Linked DNA regions of Homo sapiens: regions 1, 2, 3, 4, 6 and 7 are each linked to region 5. The links are contacts of gene promoters, found by promoter capture Hi-C in blood cells and fetal thymus (Javierre and others, 2016). All regions are on one chromosome and are shown on one strand. Each heading gives the region's core, a stretch centred on a gene start or on the middle of the fragment in contact. The rest is flanking DNA. Distances are from core to core; before and after follow the strand shown.

Region 1 (2,845 bases), core at 131-2,630, 370 kb after region 5:
CTCACTATATGATGGCAGCTCTCTAAGCCTGTTTTCTCATCTGAAATTCTTTCATGGTTGTTGTGAAAGTTAAGTAAGTAGATGTGTGTAAACAGTTGGGCACACAGCCTAGCTCAGAGTAAATGCATAATAAATGTTAATTGATGTTATTGAAATGTTGCTTGGTGAATATGGAAGTAGAAAAAAATGAAGGTGGGTGTTTGAATGGTGAATCTCTAGACATGGGCATGAGAATATCCAAAGGGGTAAATCTGAATCATGGGAGGTTTCACCTACATGTATTTTGAAATTATTTCCCTAGTGAGTTATAGCTACTGGTGAAAGTATGTATTCTTCAAGTATGGTGGGGTGGAAAAAGACTGATGGTCTTAAGAAAAATTTCATCCAAGCCCTGATACAGCCTGACTCAGCCTAAGGCATGATTATCTTGGAGCTTGCATTATGTTGACACAATCACGTTTTCTGTCACCTTGATATACCTCAGACATCCTTTACAGATGGAGAGGTATAAAAATATTGAATGGACCTGCCACTGACTTAAAAAATAAAACATTGCTCATACAACTGTAGACCCTGTTTTTAAAGCAATATTCTTGTTTCTTTGTTACTCGAATAATACATGCTCATTACAGGTGATTTGGTTCTTTCTGATTGCACTTTCACTAGAACCCTGTTTACCATGGCAAGTTAGGGGTGCCTCACTGTCCTTACCTTTCCCTGCCTCTTACATAGAAAAAGTAGTATTCACTTAGGGGTTTTTTGGTATTGTTTTTATCTGTTCTGAACAGGTGAAACTGAACAGTATTTTAAAGAATCTGATCGAGGAGAACGTTTGGAAGAGCCAGAAAGTACTAAAGAATCTAAATCATCATGGAAAAGAGTTTCTTTTGGGAGGTAGCACTTAGTGTCTCTGAATTTGATGAAAACAAGTTACGCTTTTTGGACTAAGAATTAAAATCACACGTAATATACCAAGATGGCACCAAAAAAAGCTAATGTGAAACTTCTACTAACTTCTCATATTTTAAACTTTCCTGAGGGAGTTTTAAGAACCTTGAGTTACATATAATACCTAAATCTCAGTATCAACTATCTACTCATTTTTATATTTTTCTTTTTTTTTCTTTTTTGAGACGGAGTCTCATTCTGTTGCCCAGGCTGGAGTGTGGTGGCATGATCTCGACTCACTGCAAACTCTGCTTCCCAGGTTCAAGGGATTCTCCTGCCTCAGCCTCCTGAGTAGCTGGGATTACAGGCACGCGCCACCATGCCCGGCTAATTTTTATATTTTTAGTAGAGATGGGGTTTCACCATGTTGGTCAGGCTGGCCTCGAACTCCTGATCTCAGGTGATCCACCTGCCTTGTCCTCCCAAAGTGCTGGGATTACAGGCATGAGCCACCGCGCCTGGTCCCTGTTTTTCTCTTAATCATCAAAGTACGTCATCATCTTTGCAAAAAACTTGCAAAATAGAAAAAGCAGGAAAAAAAATCTATTCCGAACTAAATAACTGCTGTTAACATTTTGTTAAATTTTTTAGTCCTTTTTACTATTTTTTTCTTTTTTGGATTTAGTCATATGTCTATATAATTTCGTTGCCTGCCCCTCACCCCTGCTTTTTTAATAAAGAGACAGGGTCTTGCTCTGACACTCATGGTGGAGTACAGTGGCGTGATCAGAGTTCACTGTAGCCTTGAACTCCTGAGCTTAAGCCCAAGTAGCTGGGACCACAGGTGTGCGCCACCACACCTGGCTAATTTTTTTTTTTTTTTTTTTTTTTAACAGAGATGGCATCTTGCTATATTGACCAGGCTGGTCTTGAATTCCTGGCCTCAAGCGATCCTCCTGCTGCAGCCTCCCAGAGTGCTGGGATTATAGGCATGACCCACCTCACCAGGCTCGTTTCCTGCATTTTTAAACTTAACATTAAGTGTTCTCAAGTTGTTTAATTTTTTTTTTGAGACACAGTCTTGCTGTGTCACACAGGCTGGAGTGTGCAGTGGCACAATCTCAGCTTACTGCAACCTCTGCCTCCCGGTTTCGAGTGATTCTTGTGCCTCAGCCTCCTGAGTAGCTGGGACTACAGGTGCACGCCGCCACGGCTGGCTAATTTTTGTATCTTTAGTAAAGGTGAGTTTTCACCGTGTTGGCAAGGCTGGTCTTGAACTCCTGACCTCAAGTGATCCGCCTGCCTCAGCCTCCCAAAGTGGTGGGATTACAGGCGTGAGCCCCTGCGCCCAGCCTCAAGTTGTTAAATTCTTTATAATAATTTGTAATCACTGTATAACATCATTCATGTGGATGCTTCATAAATTACTAAGCCATTCCTCTAAAGTAGAGAGTTTTTTTAAATATTATCAAAAACGTGATACTTAATGTTTATTCTTTTTTTCCTCATATCTTGAGGCTAGATTCAGAGTAAGACAGTGTAAATGTTTTAAGGCTAATAATAAAAGTTGCCAGACTGTTTTCCAAAAAGGCCATGACTGTACATTTACCAACAGTATAGCAATGCTGGGTTACAGGACCTTCATGAGCCAGTATCATTGATCATTTTCACAGTTTTTAAACTTGTGCTTCTTTCATAGACAAAAATGTATTGTCATGACAGGTTTGATTGCACTTCTTGCTAACTAGAGGTTGAGCATAATGCTATGTCTTCATGGTTCGAAGAGCACAGGCAATGCCTTCTTTTTTAGGTATAGTACATTGTAAAAAATGTGTCTCAGAGGAGACCATCATAAGATGAAATTTTTTTTTTTTTGAGACAGAGTTTTGCTCTTGTTGCCCAGGCTGGAGTGCAGTGGTGCAATCTCGGCTCACTGCAACCTCTGCCTCCCAGGTTC
Region 2 (2,882 bases), core at 270-2,769, 350 kb after region 5:
GCAATTTCTTCCAGGGGCCCCTTCTATGGGTTCATCAAAACAATGAGACTTGTGACTGTTATTATTAAGAGACTCATGATTAAATTGCAGGTTTCTGATTTTGCAGTTTCTATTTAAATAGGTCGAGACCTTAAGACCTACCCAGAAAGTGGAAAAGTGGTATACCCAGACTGAGGAAGTTTGATTCCAAAGTCCATGATTTCTTATACCAGCCTCAGTTACGAAAACCTTTAAAGAGGTTCAGGGAAAAAGGAACAATCTACATTTCACTGTGAGACTACCAAACTACTACCTGATTAAGAGGGGTAACAGCTTAGCAATTGAGTTAATGTAATTCAGGAGTAAAGTTTTATCATTAGTAAAGTGCTGTACCAGGTTCAGGAAATAGTTCTTCTTTACAAGTGTATACAAGGGTTTAAAAAAAGGCCAGCTAGATAGTAATTAACTGCAAAGCTGGGTACTACTGCCAGGTGTTTTCCACATTCAGGAACTCACACCAGGTAAAAGGCCTATACGCAAATAAATAAAAAGAGAGAATGGGGAGAAAAATCACATTTATTAGTTAAGACGACCACAGGCTGGACACAACACACATGCTAAAAAGTGGACTGTCTTTTAAAACTTCCAAGGTAAATAGGTAAATGTTTTCCACAGCCCAACAATCATTTCAGTGTTTACAAATTAAAAGGCCCACGGTTAAGACATTAAACAGTAAAATATGTAATAAATGCTCCAACCTACCCTCTCCCCCGAAAGCTGCTTCTAAGTTTAAAACCATGAATTTGACTAACCATGCCATTGAAAACCATCCAGGTTACTACAGGCTGAATTAGTTTTCAATGTCTAAGTCCTAGAAATATCACTCCCTATCCCAGCCCTAGCAAATTCTAACTTTACATTTGACATAAGGCATTAACATCAATTAAAGCCTCAGTTTAATAATCAGAATTTAAATGAAGTCTCCTGAAGACCTCTCTTCTGGCAAAAAAAAACACGTATCAGACTCTGGGAAAACATTCAGACCCACTTCTAGCTATTACTGAAATAAATGATTAGAAAGTTACGTTGGTGAGCCGAAGTTAAACCTAAAGCTATCCCCTGGATCTTTCTAGCAATAAACCCATGTTGAACCTACCATGAAAACTTTCATTCACTGTGCTTTTGGTTACGTTGCCTCCTGATTAGTCATTAATTTTAATGAGGTTTTTTCCTTGTGTTGAGTATGAATAGACCTTACAGTTTGAGGATCTCTAGAATTCCCTGAATTATTGGAAAGACATTCATGACTCCCAGTGTGACTAGTTAAGAGCCCCAGGGAGCCTGTGAAGACTAGAATCTACAAGTAACCTGCACTAAGAACGAAATTCAGTAAAGGAGACTCAAGCTTAGCTCCTGGCCATCTTAAAGGGCTAATGTATGTCTTTCACAGGTTTGTTCAACATTTCAGTAATTCACAGTATAGCCAAGAGCATGAGTATAAGTCTCTTGAAAAAGCCAGTTATTTGGAGCTTTTTAAATTATAAACTTTGAAAAAGTCACCCACGTTCTCACACTATATAGATGACTTTGTATCTATTTTACTATTTTCTCATTTAACCATACTAGCAAATAAGGAAAAAGGCTATTAAATGACTCCCCTGATGCTGGAAGCTGACAAAGCTTTTATGCAATTTAGCCTGTAACTAAAAATTCACCTGTATCAATTCATTCTGACTCCTGCAATATGAATAGCTCATTATAAAGAAGGGCCTTCTGATTCCCCCTGCCTCCCAAATTAAATAAAAAGGAACAGTCATTTGTTTTCATGGAAAAAAAAAACCAAACAAAAACAAAAAAAAAACCAGACCATCTTAAGCAAAGTTTTACATGACATTATATAAAATAAAGTACAATTTCCACTTAATTCAGTCTTCAAATATTTTTTATTGGAAGGCCATGCATTGCCTTCATTTATTGTATTTCAAATCACTGTACATTTACTTTTGTGAAAACACTGCCTGCATTTTCTAGTACAAAAAAAACCTAAAAATTGTTTCAGGAATGTAGAGAAATATCCAACTTAAATAGCGAAAAAGTGCACCATAATTACTGCTGCACTGCAGTCATTTCTGCAATTCCCATGTTTCTTAAATAACTATCTTGTCAGATAACACACAATATAAAGAGCAATTATGAAAAACAGACATTTACATATACTTCTAAAGTCTTATTGGGAATATCCTGTTGGCATTGGATAACCAATCATAGGTGCAGCTGCAGTAGCAGGATATGCATATGCCTGTTGGTTCATACCATTGTGCATATTTGGAACATTACTTCCGTATTGCTGAGTGCTATCATAACCATTCTGGTAAGTCCCTGTTGGATTACCAGTCCTAAAACTGGTCTGTATACCAGCAGACACAAAATTACTTCCAAAGCTCCCATTGGTGTAATTTGCAGCACTGTAAACACCATTCTGAGTTTTTGCCCCAAAATCTCTTTTAAGCAGGCTAGAGTAACCTCTGTCATAATTTTCCCTGTCTCTAAAGGTATTAAATCCACCCCTTTTGCCCGCAGAGTATCTGTCCCGACGGTCATCCTTCATGCCTCCTCTACCCCTGGAACGACCTGTCAAGAAAACAATTGCAAATTGATCAATTATGTCTATGACACAAATCATTGTGGACAGAAAGAAACAGATCTATTCATGGTAGGCGTGAAATGTTTTTACAATTTTTCAGCTTAAGTTTTCACATTCAAGGTTTTACTCACCCTCCAATACCATTTAAATGGATTTGTAGACAACGATGTGACTCGTAACTACCAACATTTCCTATCAGTCATCCTTACCTGAACCTCTGTCTTCGACCAACTGAAGCAACTTGGGATTAATTGCTTGA
Region 3 (2,700 bases), core at 96-2,595, 430 kb before region 5:
GAGCCAAGAGCCCACCCTCCCTCCATGTGACACACTCATGGTTTATTACCTGCAAGAATGTTACCATCTCATTGGAACAAGCTTCTAGGTTAATCCTCCGTACAGTCACGTACTCTCCTGTTGGTTTGTACCTTGCTAGATTCACAGTCATCAGGTCCTCAAATCCTTTGCCTAAAAGAAAAAGGGAATGCCATACGCAAGGACAAGAACAACAAAAGGTTTTAAGAAAATTTTCCTTTAAAAAAGGGACTTGATTTCAAAAGAAACTTAATGTTAAATTTTTCACTACTGTTACTTTTTTTTTTTTCCTTTTCCCAGCAGAATTTAACTGTTATGTTCATGGCTCACATTTCTTGATTTTTCTCTCATCAGTTCCTTCTCAGCCAACCTTTCTGACTCACTATGGCCAGGACACCGGAAACATGGCAGCCACAAAGGAAAGATGGCAAAAGAGCTTCTTTCCTGGAAGTTTGATCTCTTCCCATACTTGGCATAAAAAAACAGAGAAGACCCACAGAAGCAAGTCTGTGCCCATGAATCCTCCTAACTAGTGGATGGCCTCTGCTGTACACACATCTGGGGCTGCTGAGAAAGCTGCAGCAGCCCCTGGAGCAGAAAGCAGGAGAGTAAGGACGGCCCCTGCACATACCTATCACAGTGAGCAGCTCGTAACACCCTCCCTCTGGCAGAAAGCTACTCATGACCTCCTGTTTAGAGAAGGATGCTATTGACTCTGAGCTCGCATCATTGGTCTAAAAAAGAAAAAGAAAAATAGGTTAGTAGAGAAAACTGGGGGTGGGATGGGAGTGGGGTGAAGGTGGTAATTCAGACCCACGAGGAGACTGGCATCTAAACACACACACAAATCCCGACTCAGTGCCAGCACTATTTGAAGAGAAACAAAACACTACATTCAGGGTAGTAATCAGCACTAATATCAGAGCAAGTGTTAGGGTTGTCTACAAATGAGGAGACAAGGACCTGTTCCCATCAAATGTTAATCTGCTTGTCCTTTCCAACAATCAATGCATTTGCTAAAAGCTATGAAATTCTCACTTGGAGAAGGGATGTCTAGAGAATGAAAGCATGTTTGGAAAAGAGAAGCAGGTGGAGAGGTAGGGGTTCTCATGAATTTCCTGATGCATTAGGATCCTATTTTTAAGGTCCTCACCACAAGATCCCAAAAGGTCAAACGCTGAATCTTGCTCTAGGGAAAATGTGGCCAGGAGTAGCCCCCTCTTTAGCAAACCAAGAGCCCGGGCCAGTCATTGCCTGACATTTCCAAGTGAAGTGGGAGAACCCTGATGCCCTGAGCTGCAGGCAAGGCACAGAGCTGTCAGGTCTCAGGCATCGTCCAGGCAGCTGACATGGCCTGCTCCCTCGTTCCTGCCCACGTGTGCTGTGAGTGAAGCTGGAGTCCAGCCACTTAGGATGTGTCACAACTCTGGCCTCTAAGGTCCTAGAGGAAGGTGTCCAGCCATGTCTGAGTTTGTGCAAAACACACGGCAGACCAACAGCTCTTCTTTCAGCTTAATGGACTGTTTCCTTCTTCCACACCTAAATTTATGTGTATGATTTAGGGACTGTGACTGCTTTTCTTTTAGATTCTCTTTCTTTAGATGCACATCTAACTGAAATGGAGAAACCTGGGCCAGCTCATGTTTCATGTGCTGCACTCATAAACCTGACCTCCAGGCAGAAAAAGTCCTTTGTGAAAGTATGAGAGGCTCCTGACCCAGCACTACCCAGAAGAGCACGAGCTGAGAGTGTTCTGAAAAGGCGGTGCTTGAACAACTCTTTGGGAAGCGGCTCTGCAGAGGAAACCATAAAGATGACGGTGCTCTATACCTGTAAGATGACCAGAGTATACTTTCCAGAGCACTTCCAAATTGCACATGATTCCTCCATAGCTCAGTCAAGTAGCCGGGACAGATCTTATCTCCACTTTTCACTAACAAAAACGAGGGCCAAGGAGATTATGTGACTTGCCAAAAATCAAAACGTGAGTACATGGCACAGGACCCAGGCCCAAACCAGTGAGATTAATCTACCACCCTGTTGGCTGACGTTTCACGTGTATCTGGTTTGTTTGTTGTTTTGTTGCTGTTGTTTTTAAGATATGGGTTATCTCTTTGTCGCTCAGGCTAAAGTGCAGTGGTGAGTTCCTGGCTCACCGTGGCCTCGAACTCCTGGGCTCAATTGATCCTCCTGCCTCAGCCTCCCAAGTAGCTGAGATTATTGGCAGGAGCTGAGATTATTGGCTGTATGTGGTTTCAAAACAGTTGATGCTGCTGATGGGGAAAGAAACCCTCAAGTGGGCTCTGTCTCCCTCACCACTTACCCTGGCAATAAGAGGAACCTAGTCAAGCAAAATTAAGCCCTGTCACCAAATTCCATTTCTAATTTAATCAATTTTTAAATTTCTAAGATTTGGCCATATTGTTGTATTTCACTGTAGTTCGCCCATTTTCACTGCTGTATCATATATTCAGCACATGAATATATCTCAGTTTATCCAATTCCAACTTTGATGGCTCATTTGGGTTGTTTTTCAGTTCTGCTATTATGGACTGTGCTACTATAAACATGTTTGAATATGTATCCTGACTAAAGCTTGTAATTAGGAGTGGCTGGAATTGCTAGTGACAGAGCATATGAACAATCAACTGTTTGAGACAATGCCAAATTATTTTCCAAAAT
Region 4 (2,700 bases), core at 16-2,515, 330 kb after region 5:
ACCTCTGCCTCCTGGGTTCAAGCGATTCTCCTGCCTCAGCCTCCCAAGTAGCTGGGATTACAGGCGCCCACCACCACGCCCAGCTAATTTTTTGTATTTTTAGTAGTTTCACCATGTTGGCCAGGCTGGTCTCAAACTCCTGACCGCAGGTAATCCACCTGCCTCAGCCTCCCAAAGGGTTGGGATTACAAGCGTCAGCCACTGGCCAACTCAGTGCTATTCTTATTTCATCTCCCACCACTTAAAAAAGTTTGTTTTAAACAGGAGAATTATAAAGCAAGTCTCAATTACCATAAATGTATGTATCTGTCAGACAAGGATTTTTTTAAAAAGAAAAATATAAACATACTACCATTATCACACCCAACAAAATTGTAAATAATTCCTTGATATCATGTAGTGTTATTTTTTTAATGTGATAATAGTGTGGTTATTAACAAAAGATCCTTAAATATTTCCAGATTAAATGGTAGCTGCTATCTGCCTTGAAATAATATTCAAGGAGGCCAGGTGAGGTGGTTCATGCCTGTAATCCCCATATTTTGGGAGGCTGAGACAGGAGGATCACTTGAGCCTAGGAGTTTGAGACCAGCCTGGGCCACATAGTGAGACCCTGTCTCTTAAATTAATAAATAAATGTAAATAAATAAATTACTGATATAATATGGAAGGGTGGTATTAGTGGATGAGGTGGGACTGGCCAAAGGTTGATTGTTGTTGGTGCTAGATGATCACTACATAGAATTAGTACAATTATATGTCTGCTTTTAAAATTCTCCATAATAAAAAAAAGCATAAAATAACCAAAACAAGGCTAGGTGCAGTGGCTCAAAATTGTTATCCCATCATTTTAGGAGGTCAAGGCAGGAGGACTACTTGAGGCTCGGAGTGAAAGATCAGCTTAGCCAACATAGTGAGACCCTGTCTCTACAAAAAAAATTAAAATTAAAATAAAAAAAAAAAGAGAAAAACCTACCAAGTAAAATCAATTAAGTCAGTCAAACTTTTGAAATATTTTACAGGCACTATCAGTTGGAATTTTTGTCAAGTTGGTAACAATGGGATATTTTACACAATCATATCAACACATAAAAGTTAAAAGATTTCTTATAAACATAGATATTAGACAGGAAACAAACTACAATATATGACATCTAACATATATTTTAGTTGCTTTTCAAAAATCCGTAAATACTCTAAGTTTTAAAAGTTTAGTTTTAGGTTAATTTTTGATATCTGACAGTATAGATGTGGCAGATTCCATAAAGACCTTTTCCTTCCTGGTAACAAAGCCCATTTCTGAGAGAGTAAGATACTATTGCAGCCTCAAGGGATAAATTGCGTTTGATCTAAATCAGATCATTTTCATTCCCTTGGATGGTGATTTGCCTAGAAATTATCATGTGATTTAGTTCTGACCAAAGAGATGTAAAGACATCTCCCGACTGGGATGTCTGGAAAAGTTTTTACTTCCCTAATTTAAAAGGGAAGAGTGTTGGCTGACTAGCTCTTGTCTCTTTAACTTTTCTCCTAACTAGAATGATAATTAGGCTGGAAATACAGCAGCCACCTAAGATCCCGAAGCAACAATGATAAACACCAGCGTACTAAACATGGCAGAACAGAAGGGAAGTGCCTGGGTCCCTAACTATAGAAACAGTAATACTAGCTTTGGACAGTCTACCCGCTAGAGTTCTTGTATGTAAGAAAAACAAACCCCAATTTGCTTAATCCAGTATAGTAGATTTTTGTTTCTTGTAGCTGAACATATTCCTGATACAATGAAAGACATAAAAAATATAAACACTGAATGAAAGCAAGCACCACAAATGTCCACTTTATAAGTGCAAAGGGGCTAGAAATAAATCTAAGTGAACATAAGACAACCAAATTAGGAGAGAAGAATATTTATTATACAAATATAAAAATCTATACATTCTTAGCTGATGATATATACTTAATCAAAAAGTCTTTTAATTTGGATATATGCATCATTTCCTTCATTGTGGTGTCTCTGCTTCTCAGATGTATTAATCCATTCTCCAAAGTAGTTTCAGTAACCAAAACTGTGAAGAGAATACTCATTTCATCATACCTAAGAAAAAAGTAGTTAAACAGACACATGAGCACAAATGTAAATAATAAATTCCTCCACGTTGCCAGCTGTAATTCAGTGTTCATGCACTCTCAAGAGTCACAGACTCAGGGCTTAAGGGTGGACCAAAAAAACCCAACATTTTTAAAGTTTCTGAATTGTATTTAAAGTAATATTTTCAGACAGTTTCTAACTTATTGCTAGAGCTGAAAAGTCATAAAAGAAAATAAAATCTGAGAATAAACACTGGTACCTCAACACATCATTTGGGGTGATATCACAGAAGAACCGCATAATAACCTCAGCCTTTTGGTTCTTGGATGCAATCCAAGAACAATTATTTTAGACTGAAGTCTCTTACAATAAACAATATTATAATAAAGATGCAATTTGGTATAACAAATTATACCAAAATCATGTTTCCTTTATTGAGTAGCTAGCTTATAGCTTCTAGTTCAGCAATAACCAAACAGATAGATGCACGGCTGACCTTCTGTATGCTTACCAAGTCACACTATCTCATTACTGTTTATTTCCTTTGTAGGACTCCATCAGAAACTTTTTATTTCTCTGTTTATTTATTGTCTATTTTGTCCTACTAGAAT
Region 5 (2,863 bases), core at 67-2,566:
AGATGGAGTCTCGCTCTGTTGCTCAGGTTAGAGTGTAATGGCGCGATCTCAGCTCATTGCAACCTCCGCCTCCCGGGTTCAAGCGATTCTCCTGCCTCAACCTCCTGAGTAGCTGGGATTACAGGGGCCTGCCACCACGCCCGGCTAATTTTTGTATTTTTAGTAGAGACAGGGTTTCGCCATGTTGGCCAGGCTGTTCTTGAACTCCTGACCTGATCCATCCGCCTCCGTCTCCCAGAGTGCTGGGATTACAGGCGTGAGCCACCGCGCCCGGCCAAAGAGGAATTTTTTGAATTTAAAGTCTATATAGAAAATAAGGAAAATAAGAGCCCATTCAACTACAAACCCATAGGGTGAAATGATTTCACTGTCACATACACACACACACACAAAACAATAAATTTTCCGTATTAAGAGGAAAAAAAGGAAAAGAATTCCCAAGGAAAACAGGGAGGCAATAAAGATAACCGGCGACTGTGACTGCTGGTGTACTGTGTCCTCCCCCAGTTAAGCAAACTATCATTCATCCACCTGTATGTCCGGGGAACAGGCTCAATCAACTCTGCGAAGCTTTCCCAAAGTCAGGCTTTCTGTCCTTTGGGCTTCTACAGTAGGCTGTTCATAGCGCTATGTTAGTATTTATTAAAGTTTTGCAATCCCAGGAAGTTTTTCACATCACTCTGCCCTTTAAATACCTTTGTTTACCACTTAGAATGTGCCAGGCAATTGGCATTAATTCACCGAATCCTTACAATTTTTTTTTTTCGCGGTGTGTGTGTGTTGGGGGGGGGCGGCGGGGGGGTATTCCTAATTTCCAGAAACTGAATCTCAGAAAGGTTAACTGAGCAAGGTCACAGAGCGAACGCATCACAAAGTCAGGATGTGGTGCAGATCGGTCCATTTTCAATACAAGCTCTTTCTACCACGACAGGTTATTTTGCACTTGGGGACAGTTTTTAACTTTCCATTCTCAACTCCTATCCTAGCTCCTGGCACAGAACATGTCATCCAAGTTAGGCATCATCGTCGCCTGCTCTTGGTGAAGTTTTCTTTTGCGTACTGCGGAGAGATGCGCTCATTACCAGCTGGCGGTGGAGTCGCTGAAACGCAAATGGATTTGAGACTGAGCGACTCCCATCTCTATGGTTGGTATGTGACCCATCTATCCTCTGGAGGACTCAGCAAGGACTACCAGTCACCAGACAACTTTACGCGCACGTGGTCGCAAGGTGAACTTGCTATTGGTTAATGGCAGTAAAGCCCGCCCATCAGCGCTGGTCTGCTCCTTTAAAAGAACGCCATCGACGCTCCCCTGTCTTTCAGCGCCTGCAGGTTCCGGGAGGTCAGGTTGTATTCCTGGCGGGTCGTCTGGCTGGGTGGGCCCCGGAGGTCGTGGCTCGGGAGCAGGGAGGCGTAGGGGGGCCGGCCTGCTGTGATGACATTCCAATTAAAGCACGTGTTAGACTGCTGACGCGGGTGATGCGAACTGGAGTCTGAGCCTGCCCGAGCGGAGCTGGGAGGGGGCTGGCGGGCGGGCGCGCGCACACCCGCTGATCTATCACTCTCGTTCTTGTAGCTCCCAGCCGAGGACGTCGGATGTCATCGTCCTTGCTGCTTTGCCACCCCATTCCCGTCAATAAAGTGGTTTGAACCCAACCCTGGTGTCGGTGTGTGTCGTTGGCGACGCGCTGTCTTTGAGCCCCCGCCGAGCTTCCTCGTGGCGCCGGGGGTCAATCTGCAGCGCTAGAGCATGTGCTTGCGCATAACTGGGGCCGCCTGGCCTCCCGCGGGCGGCCTTTTTAACCGCGAGCGACAAGAAGTAACCTGACTGTCCGGCTGCTAGGCTGGGCAATTTTCCAGCTGTTTTGCCACGACAGGCCTCAATCCGTAATACCAAGGCTGGAATGGCGTGTTAGGGGGGCGGTGGCTGACGGGGATACGCGGACTCTTGATGCGTAAGGAGTGCCCCTCTGCTCCCATACGTTCCCCAGCCCAGCCTTCCCTGAGTGTATCGCGCGCGCTGTGCCTTCGCCGTGAGTTCGACATAAGTCCCAGGCTGTCGCGTCTGCCATCAGACGCGCAGATTTAGTTGAAGGCAGCGTGGAATGGCGTCTGCAGGGCTGTTGTGTACTTGACATAAACAGATTCGGTGTGGAACTGCATTGAGTTAACTCCTGACTAAAGGGTAATCGACCTGTTTACAAATAACCATGCAGGAGTACTGACAAGCATGGGACTAAAGCTTTGGGCAGGTTAATCTGTCACTCCTAAACAGTTCAAAATTATAGGGCGGTTGTGAAGGTGAATTAGATTTTATATATGGTTGGGGACAACATAGACACCTAGTTACACAGTCCAGATTCAGTGATTGGTAAAAGATCTTCCACAAGGGCTCCAGTGAAAGGTGCATCAGTTCTGAGTACAGGGCAGCAATGGTGGGCAAGGATGCACGTATGCGTTCACTACATGGACATTCGATGAATGAAGGTGTCCCGAATTAACATTATACTAGACAATGAAGGGTGTAAACTGCAGCCCAGGAGCACCACTGCCCTACCCCCTCAGTTACGAACTTTCACTGGATTCTTTAAATGTGGGCTGAAGATAATGGCACATAGTTTGAAGGATGTAGTGAGGATGGCTTTGTAGCCTTAGGACTGGGCAGTGATCAACGCAGTAAATGAAAGCTGCGATTGCCAGGTGAGGGCCCCGGTGCTCTGTACTCATTTTATTGTGCCCCTATCTGAACAGGATTCCGTAGAAATGACTTAGATGCTTATCTAGTATTTGACATTGAGATATTTATTTTGTGAAACAATGCAAGCGATTTTAAATCCCCACATACTATTTGATTAAGTGCAAC
Region 6 (2,700 bases), core at 152-2,651, 400 kb before region 5:
GCAGGGCAAATAATTACTATCCTCACTTCACATTAGGTTAATAACTTGCCGAAAGTCAAAGGATTAGTAATTAGTTCTGCTGGCACTAAAAGCCAGGTCTTTGTCTTACAGTCCAGTGCTTATTTTGGCATTGCTAAACATCCAGGCAATGCAAATGAGATTGGAGACTTAGTGGTTTTCCAGTTTGTGACACTAAACAACATCCTCCTCTCTTTGTCCTCGCATTCACAGGAGAGTTAATGGAGTCTTAAGAGGTGGAATGCAGGGAGGAGCCCATAAATAACATATGGGGCTCTAAAAATATAAAATGTTTTTAAAATGATTGAATGGTAATAACAAAAGGAATATTCAGATGAACTCTTTTGAAGGAAAAGCATTTCAGTGCTGACTTTTATCGAACAGAAAGAATTTTCCTCTGAGCTTATACTCTTGTAGGATAACTCCACAAAGTCAAGGCGGCACTCTGAGATTTTGTCAATCACTTTAATAGATGTCCATAGGTAGTTCATATGAATGCTTAAGTTACAAAATTAGCTGCCATGGTCCAAATGTATGGGACTTTAGGAAAGCTTTTCTTACTCAAAAGATAACTAAGACTATCAACTTTGATTTCTAAAATGTAATTTAAAGGTTTGTAAAACAAGGCCACTACTATAATTATATAATATTAAAGTAATTAAGTTTTATGTTAGTTATTTTAATAACAACTTCATGAACTGTTAAAAATATTACATTTGCATCTCTCAGTTTACATATTTCTGTATTAACTTGGAGAAAAACCCATGTGAAAAGTTTCCATGCAGTTACAAAGGCAGCAGCACATGCTGTTTTCACAGCAACTTGTTATTGCCTCAGAACAGGCCTGCACTAAAGCATCAACAAAAAATACCCACCACCCCACTCCCACCAGAAAACCCAACCCTTACCCATCCCCGGCAAAAATTACCTGGTACAAGCAATGACCTAAAAATGCTTTCTTGGTAAGAAGCATTTATAAAATGCAGAGATCTGAACAAGCTAAGTGCTCGTGCAGATACATGGGCCTCTCCTCCAAGAGTTGGTTCCGCAAGAGGTGGAAAGAACTCTCAATAGTTTAGGAAAGCTCATTTTCAAAAGTATACTTACACATATTCATGGCCATTTCTTTGAAAGAACATACCCAGCCTCAACTGTGGAAAAGATAAAAGCAGAGGGAGAAGCAACGGCACACAGCCATAATATAGAGAACAGAGCTTCTCCATGAACATCCACCAGGCTGCAGCAACCAAGAAGGAAAAAACATTTGTGATTTCACACAGACCAATGATCTTACCTAGGTGAAGCATTAATTTTTCATGCATTTGTTACTCAAGAAAATAAACATACAACCACTTAAAATACAGCATTCACGTTGTCACTGGTTCGTGGTATCAGGTAAGGAAAAAATGATGCTCCTGTCCCTAGAATTTTCCATGTACATGTCAGTATCCTAATGCCTACAGACTTCCTATTAATTTTGTTATCAGCATCTCCCACCTAAAAACATATACTACATTATGTTCTGGGTCCCTGAAATTTCATTACTACATACAGTGTTCTAATTTTTACTTTTTCTCAAGTTTAATGTAGACATACAAGAAAACATCAAGCAATGTTTATTGTGCAATTCCAATCATTATTTGCAGAATCTTGGTTTAGAGTCAGTCTTTATAGCCATTTCAACTGCTTGGTTTAAACAAAAAGCAACAATCTGGTTATCTACCTATAAATTTCACGGTATTTCTTTAAACACTGAAGTACTAAAAGCACTGATGATTTGTATTATAATTTTTAAAATATTTAAAACCTACACAGATTTCATAGATCATTCCTTTTATAAAATAATCAAAATAATTTGATTATCTGGAAAAAAAAATTCTTGAAACAGAGCCCTTTCCAGGTATCTTCAATCTCTGTAAAACCCCAAACCCCAAACAGAGTAGATGATGAAATAAGGATTTCTCAGTTGCCCAAGACTGTCTGAAATTTAAGGTTGAGAAATGGACTGGCGTTTTTCATGTTTCCTGTGAATTCAGAGCTTACAGGTGGCATCAGAACTCAAATCTCTGGGATGGCTTTACATGGCTTTCACTTTGATTTGTTTCATTTTCATTTGCTTCTTTTCCAACTTCTTTTGCTCACGCCTCAATGCAGCCTCCTAGAGAAAGAAGGGGTAATAAATAGAGAAAGGGAGTGGGGACGAGAGAATTCAAATTAAGCTTGAAACATATGTTAAAAAAAAATCCAAATTAGAATACTGCCTATAGTATTATTCAAAAACTTAGGCTTGCACCATAACATTCTAGAAGATAGTTATAAAAATAATTGCCAATATCTACATTAGTGAATAAAAATTAAATCAACTTCAAATGAAGCAAAGGTAAACTAAAATCTCAGTTTTGAAAGAAACTACTATAATTAACCAGCCTTTGTTATTCTGGTTTGATTTTTTTCTGTACCCAGGGAACACTTAGCCTGATGTTCACCATACCATTCATGATGGCATTATATCATAAATGTATAACTGCCAGAAGATACATTCTACTTCAGTTCAATAAATTTTAAGAATCTTGTTCCATCAGGTTATTCATTGCAAATTTCTTATTAGCACAGACACCATACCTGCACATAATACTTAAATTCATAATGCTCTATTTGAGACATCATATTTATCAAATGTGA
Region 7 (2,700 bases), core at 76-2,575, 470 kb after region 5:
TCTAAAATTTTTTTGCAGAGATGGGGTCTTGCCATGTTGCCCAGGCTCAAGCAATCCTCCTACCTCAGTCTCCCAGACTGTTAGAATTACAGGCATGAGCCACTGCGCCCAGCCTCAGTTAACAAATTTAAAATGACCTTTCTAGTCCACTCATATCAAACAACTTTTAAGTAACTACTTAAAAATTTTTTTTCAACAAAGATGAAGATTTTGGTAAAGTTCTCACAAACATGCGTACTTTTTACATTAATAAAACAAGATGAGACTATACAAATAAGCTTTCTAAACACTGAGTGCAAGTTTATCAATAATAGATCTACTTTGACATAATAAATGCAGATTTTAAAGAAATCTAGTCAGAATTATAGATTTTATTCTAGTCACAATTATAATTTTTTTTACTTATCGTGATCAGAGGTAATTTTAAAGTAAAGCTTATCTTAACAAGCATAATAATCAACTTCTGGTGTAAGTTCACATGTTAAAAATAAAAAAGGGCTGGGTGCGGTGGCTTACGCCTATAATCCTAGCACTTTGGAAGGCTGAGGTGAGAGAATCACTTGAGCCCAAGAGTTAGAGACCAGCCTGGGCAATATAGTGAGACTCCGCCTCTAAAATAAATAAATAAATAAAGTAAAAGCTCAGCTAAAGCCAAGCAGCACATTCAGTATGAGATAAATGTAAAACACTTGGTCTAGGTATCTGGTACATAGCAGGCACTCTACGAAAGCTATTATTTTGAGAAACCATCTGAAAGGATTTGTTATATATCTTAAACCAGTATTTCTGTGAATTCTTTATTCCTATATGAGGATGAAAATACACAAAAGTACCGTTCTCCATTCAAAAATTCACCATGACTTAAAGACCTATGCTGTGTGCAGACCAAACATTATCCTGTCTGCTGCTGCTGGAGACTCAACCACCACCTTCTCTACTGGACTCCTTCATTCAAACAGACCCACTCATAACTGATGGCTGTTCAAGAGATGAATATTGTATATTTAAATTAAACCACACAATTTACTTTCTTCATAAGGATGCCGAGAGAAGGAAACCTTATTGTAAAGTTCAAGTATATACTTGCAATGAAGCCTAAACATTATTTTATATGTAGAAAAAGACTTGCATCACTTTTTGGCCACTCCCAAGTTTCCTTCCTTTACCTTCTTTTTCTAGAGACACTTATAGAGGCAGTGTAATATAGTGTGTTAAGCTATAAGCACTATAAAAGAGTTAAATAATTAGGGTCAGAATGCATGGGTTTGAACCTGGTGCTATCCCTTATGAACTTGTGACCCTAAAAACTACTTAACTTCTCTTTGCTTCAGATAGCTCATCTGTAAACATGAGGACAGAAGGATACTAAGAGCCACCTCATGGTGTTGTTTTAAAGATTAAACAAATTGAAACACAGAGAACATGAGACCAGTACCTGGTACACAGCAAGTGCTCAATAAACACTGGCTATTATTATTACTCAACTCTAAAATTTCTCATAAAATTAACCTACGAGGTTGCAAACACATTAAAAAAGAACATGGCCGGGCACGGTGGCTCATGCCTGTAATACTAACACTTTGGGAGGCCGAGGCGGGCAGATCATGAGATCAGGAGATCGAGACCAGCCTGGCTAACATGGTGAAACCCCGTCTCTACTAAAAATACAAAAAATTTGCCAGGCATGGTGGCATGTGCCTGTAGTCCCAGCTACTCTGGAGGCTGAGGCAGGAGAATCGCCTGAACCCGGGAGGCAGAGCCTCCCGTGAGCCGAGATCATACCACTGCACTCCCGCCTGGGTGACACGGCGAGACTCTTGTCTCAAAAAAAAAAAAAAAAAAAAAAAAAGAAGAAGAATATAATTTGGCAAGACGTTTGCCTTAGCCAAAACAAATACCATAGATTAGGTGGCTTAAACAGCAAACATTTGTTTTTCACAAATCAATGGAGGCTGAGAAGTCCAAGATCAAGGTGCCAGCAGAGTCAATGTCTGGTGAGGGCCGTCTTCCTGGTTTGCATACTCCCACCTTCTCCCTGTATGCTTGCATGGCCCCCATAATCTCTCCCATGTCTCCTGTTATAGGGGCACTAATCCTATTCATGAAGGCTCCACCCTCATGACCTCATTACCTCCCAAATGCATCACCTTCAAATACCATCACATTGGGGATTAGGCTTCAACATAGGAATATTGGGGGACACATTCCATTCATAGCAAAGCTTATGTACCTAGCAAGCTTTCAGTAAATGCTGTTAATTGAGTCCCAATCTGTTTCTCTAGCCTCACTCTCTTCCCAAGCTCCGAACTCATACACCCATTTAGATTCCTCACCAGCACTTCAAATTATATTTTTTCAAAATGGAATTCATCAGCTTCCCTAGTGAACCTGCTCTTCTTTTTGACCTCCGTAGTGCTGTGAACTGCACCACGTTTCCAGTCATCCAGAAAGCAATGTCTTTATCTCTCTTCCTCTCCCTGACCACCTCACATACCTAAAGCAGTTGCCAGATTATAGCCGGTTATCACATACCTCTGCTTATCTCCATTTCCAGTGTTCACATTTAAATAATACATCTAGAGTATTTTACAATGTGCCAAAAAACTTCTACATAGATTGTTTTCTTTAACCCCTAAAGCTTGTGAGTTATCTAATATCCACAGAAAAACTGTAAGTGAATGTTTTGGCTCACCCCTAACT

Evidence for each region. Contacts are between HindIII fragments. The CHiCAGO score rates a contact against its expected background, and 5 or more counts as called.
Region 1: a contact is called between a fragment that was not itself captured here and the fragment with the promoter of SNHG25 in region 5, in 1 of 17 cell types (monocytes). The highest score is 5.1, in monocytes.
Region 2: a fragment that was not itself captured here is called in contact with the fragment with the promoter of SNHG25 in region 5 in 5 of 17 cell types (naive CD4 T cells, monocytes, non-activated CD4 T cells and 2 more); the score reaches 9.3 in naive CD4 T cells.
Region 3: a fragment that was not itself captured here is called in contact with the fragment with the promoter of SNHG25 in region 5 in 1 of 17 cell types (total CD8 T cells); the score reaches 5.1 in total CD8 T cells.
Region 4: a fragment that was not itself captured here is called in contact with the fragment with the promoter of SNHG25 in region 5 in 1 of 17 cell types (monocytes); the score reaches 5.6 in monocytes.
Region 6: a contact is called between a fragment that was not itself captured here and the fragment with the promoter of SNHG25 in region 5, in 1 of 17 cell types (monocytes). The highest score is 6.1, in monocytes.
Region 7: a contact is called between a fragment that was not itself captured here and the fragment with the promoter of SNHG25 in region 5, in 1 of 17 cell types (monocytes). The highest score is 6.0, in monocytes.

The regions. Positions count from the first base shown.
Region 1 is chr17:64,515,935-64,518,779 of GRCh38, forward strand. CEP95 (centrosomal protein 95) reads left to right here. Exons shown (of 20, transcript NM_138363.3): 5 at 789-894. Among named protein-coding and RNA genes, the nearest start is that of CEP95, 10 kb to the left of the region's middle. The HindIII fragment of the contact is 6,240 bases long and covers 1-2,845 here.
Region 2 is chr17:64,497,717-64,500,598 of GRCh38, forward strand. It overlaps DDX5 (DEAD-box helicase 5), which reads right to left. Exons shown (of 13, transcript NM_004396.5): 12 at 2,833-2,882; 13 at 538-2,610. The coding sequence ends at 2,207. Among named protein-coding and RNA genes, the nearest start is that of MIR3064, 1.7 kb to the right of the region's middle. The HindIII fragment of the contact is 275 bases long and covers 1,383-1,657 here.
Region 3 is chr17:63,713,357-63,716,056 of GRCh38, forward strand. STRADA (STE20 related adaptor alpha) reads right to left here. Exons shown (of 13, transcript NM_001003787.4): 5 at 650-752; 6 at 50-171. Among named protein-coding and RNA genes, the nearest start is that of LIMD2, 15 kb to the left of the region's middle. The HindIII fragment of the contact is 2,532 bases long and covers 80-2,611 here.
Region 4 is chr17:64,475,894-64,478,593 of GRCh38, forward strand. It overlaps POLG2 (DNA polymerase gamma 2, accessory subunit), which reads right to left. Exons shown (of 8, transcript NM_007215.4): 8 at 1,892-2,095. The coding sequence ends at 1,930. It also overlaps a transcript of MILR1 not described here. Among named protein-coding and RNA genes, the nearest start is that of POLG2, 20 kb to the right of the region's middle. The HindIII fragment of the contact is 2,875 bases long and covers 1-2,700 here.
Region 5 is chr17:64,144,654-64,147,516 of GRCh38, forward strand. It overlaps SNHG25 (small nucleolar RNA host gene 25), which reads left to right and starts at 1,317. Exons shown (of 2, transcript NR_132278.1): 1 at 1,317-1,347; 2 at 1,577-1,656. It overlaps SNORD104 (small nucleolar RNA, C/D box 104), which reads left to right and starts at 1,425; the gene lies at 1,425-1,504. SNORA50C (small nucleolar RNA, H/ACA box 50C) reads left to right here and starts at 1,686; the gene lies at 1,686-1,818. It overlaps TEX2 (testis expressed 2), which reads right to left. Exons shown (of 12, transcript NM_001288732.2): 12 at 2,574-2,863. RefSeq lists enhancers at 1,004-1,558, 1,536-1,745. The HindIII fragment of the contact is 1,672 bases long and covers 569-2,240 here.
Region 6 is chr17:63,744,786-63,747,485 of GRCh38, forward strand. It overlaps CCDC47 (coiled-coil domain containing 47), which reads right to left. Exons shown (of 13, transcript NM_020198.3): 13 at 470-2,176. The coding sequence ends at 2,096. Among named protein-coding and RNA genes, the nearest start is that of STRADA, 4.3 kb to the left of the region's middle. The HindIII fragment of the contact is 1,668 bases long and covers 568-2,235 here.
Region 7 is chr17:64,617,655-64,620,354 of GRCh38, forward strand. The region is part of intron 1 of SMURF2 (SMAD specific E3 ubiquitin protein ligase 2); the gene reads right to left. Among named protein-coding and RNA genes, the nearest start is that of SMURF2, 43 kb to the right of the region's middle. The HindIII fragment of the contact is 1,787 bases long and covers 433-2,219 here.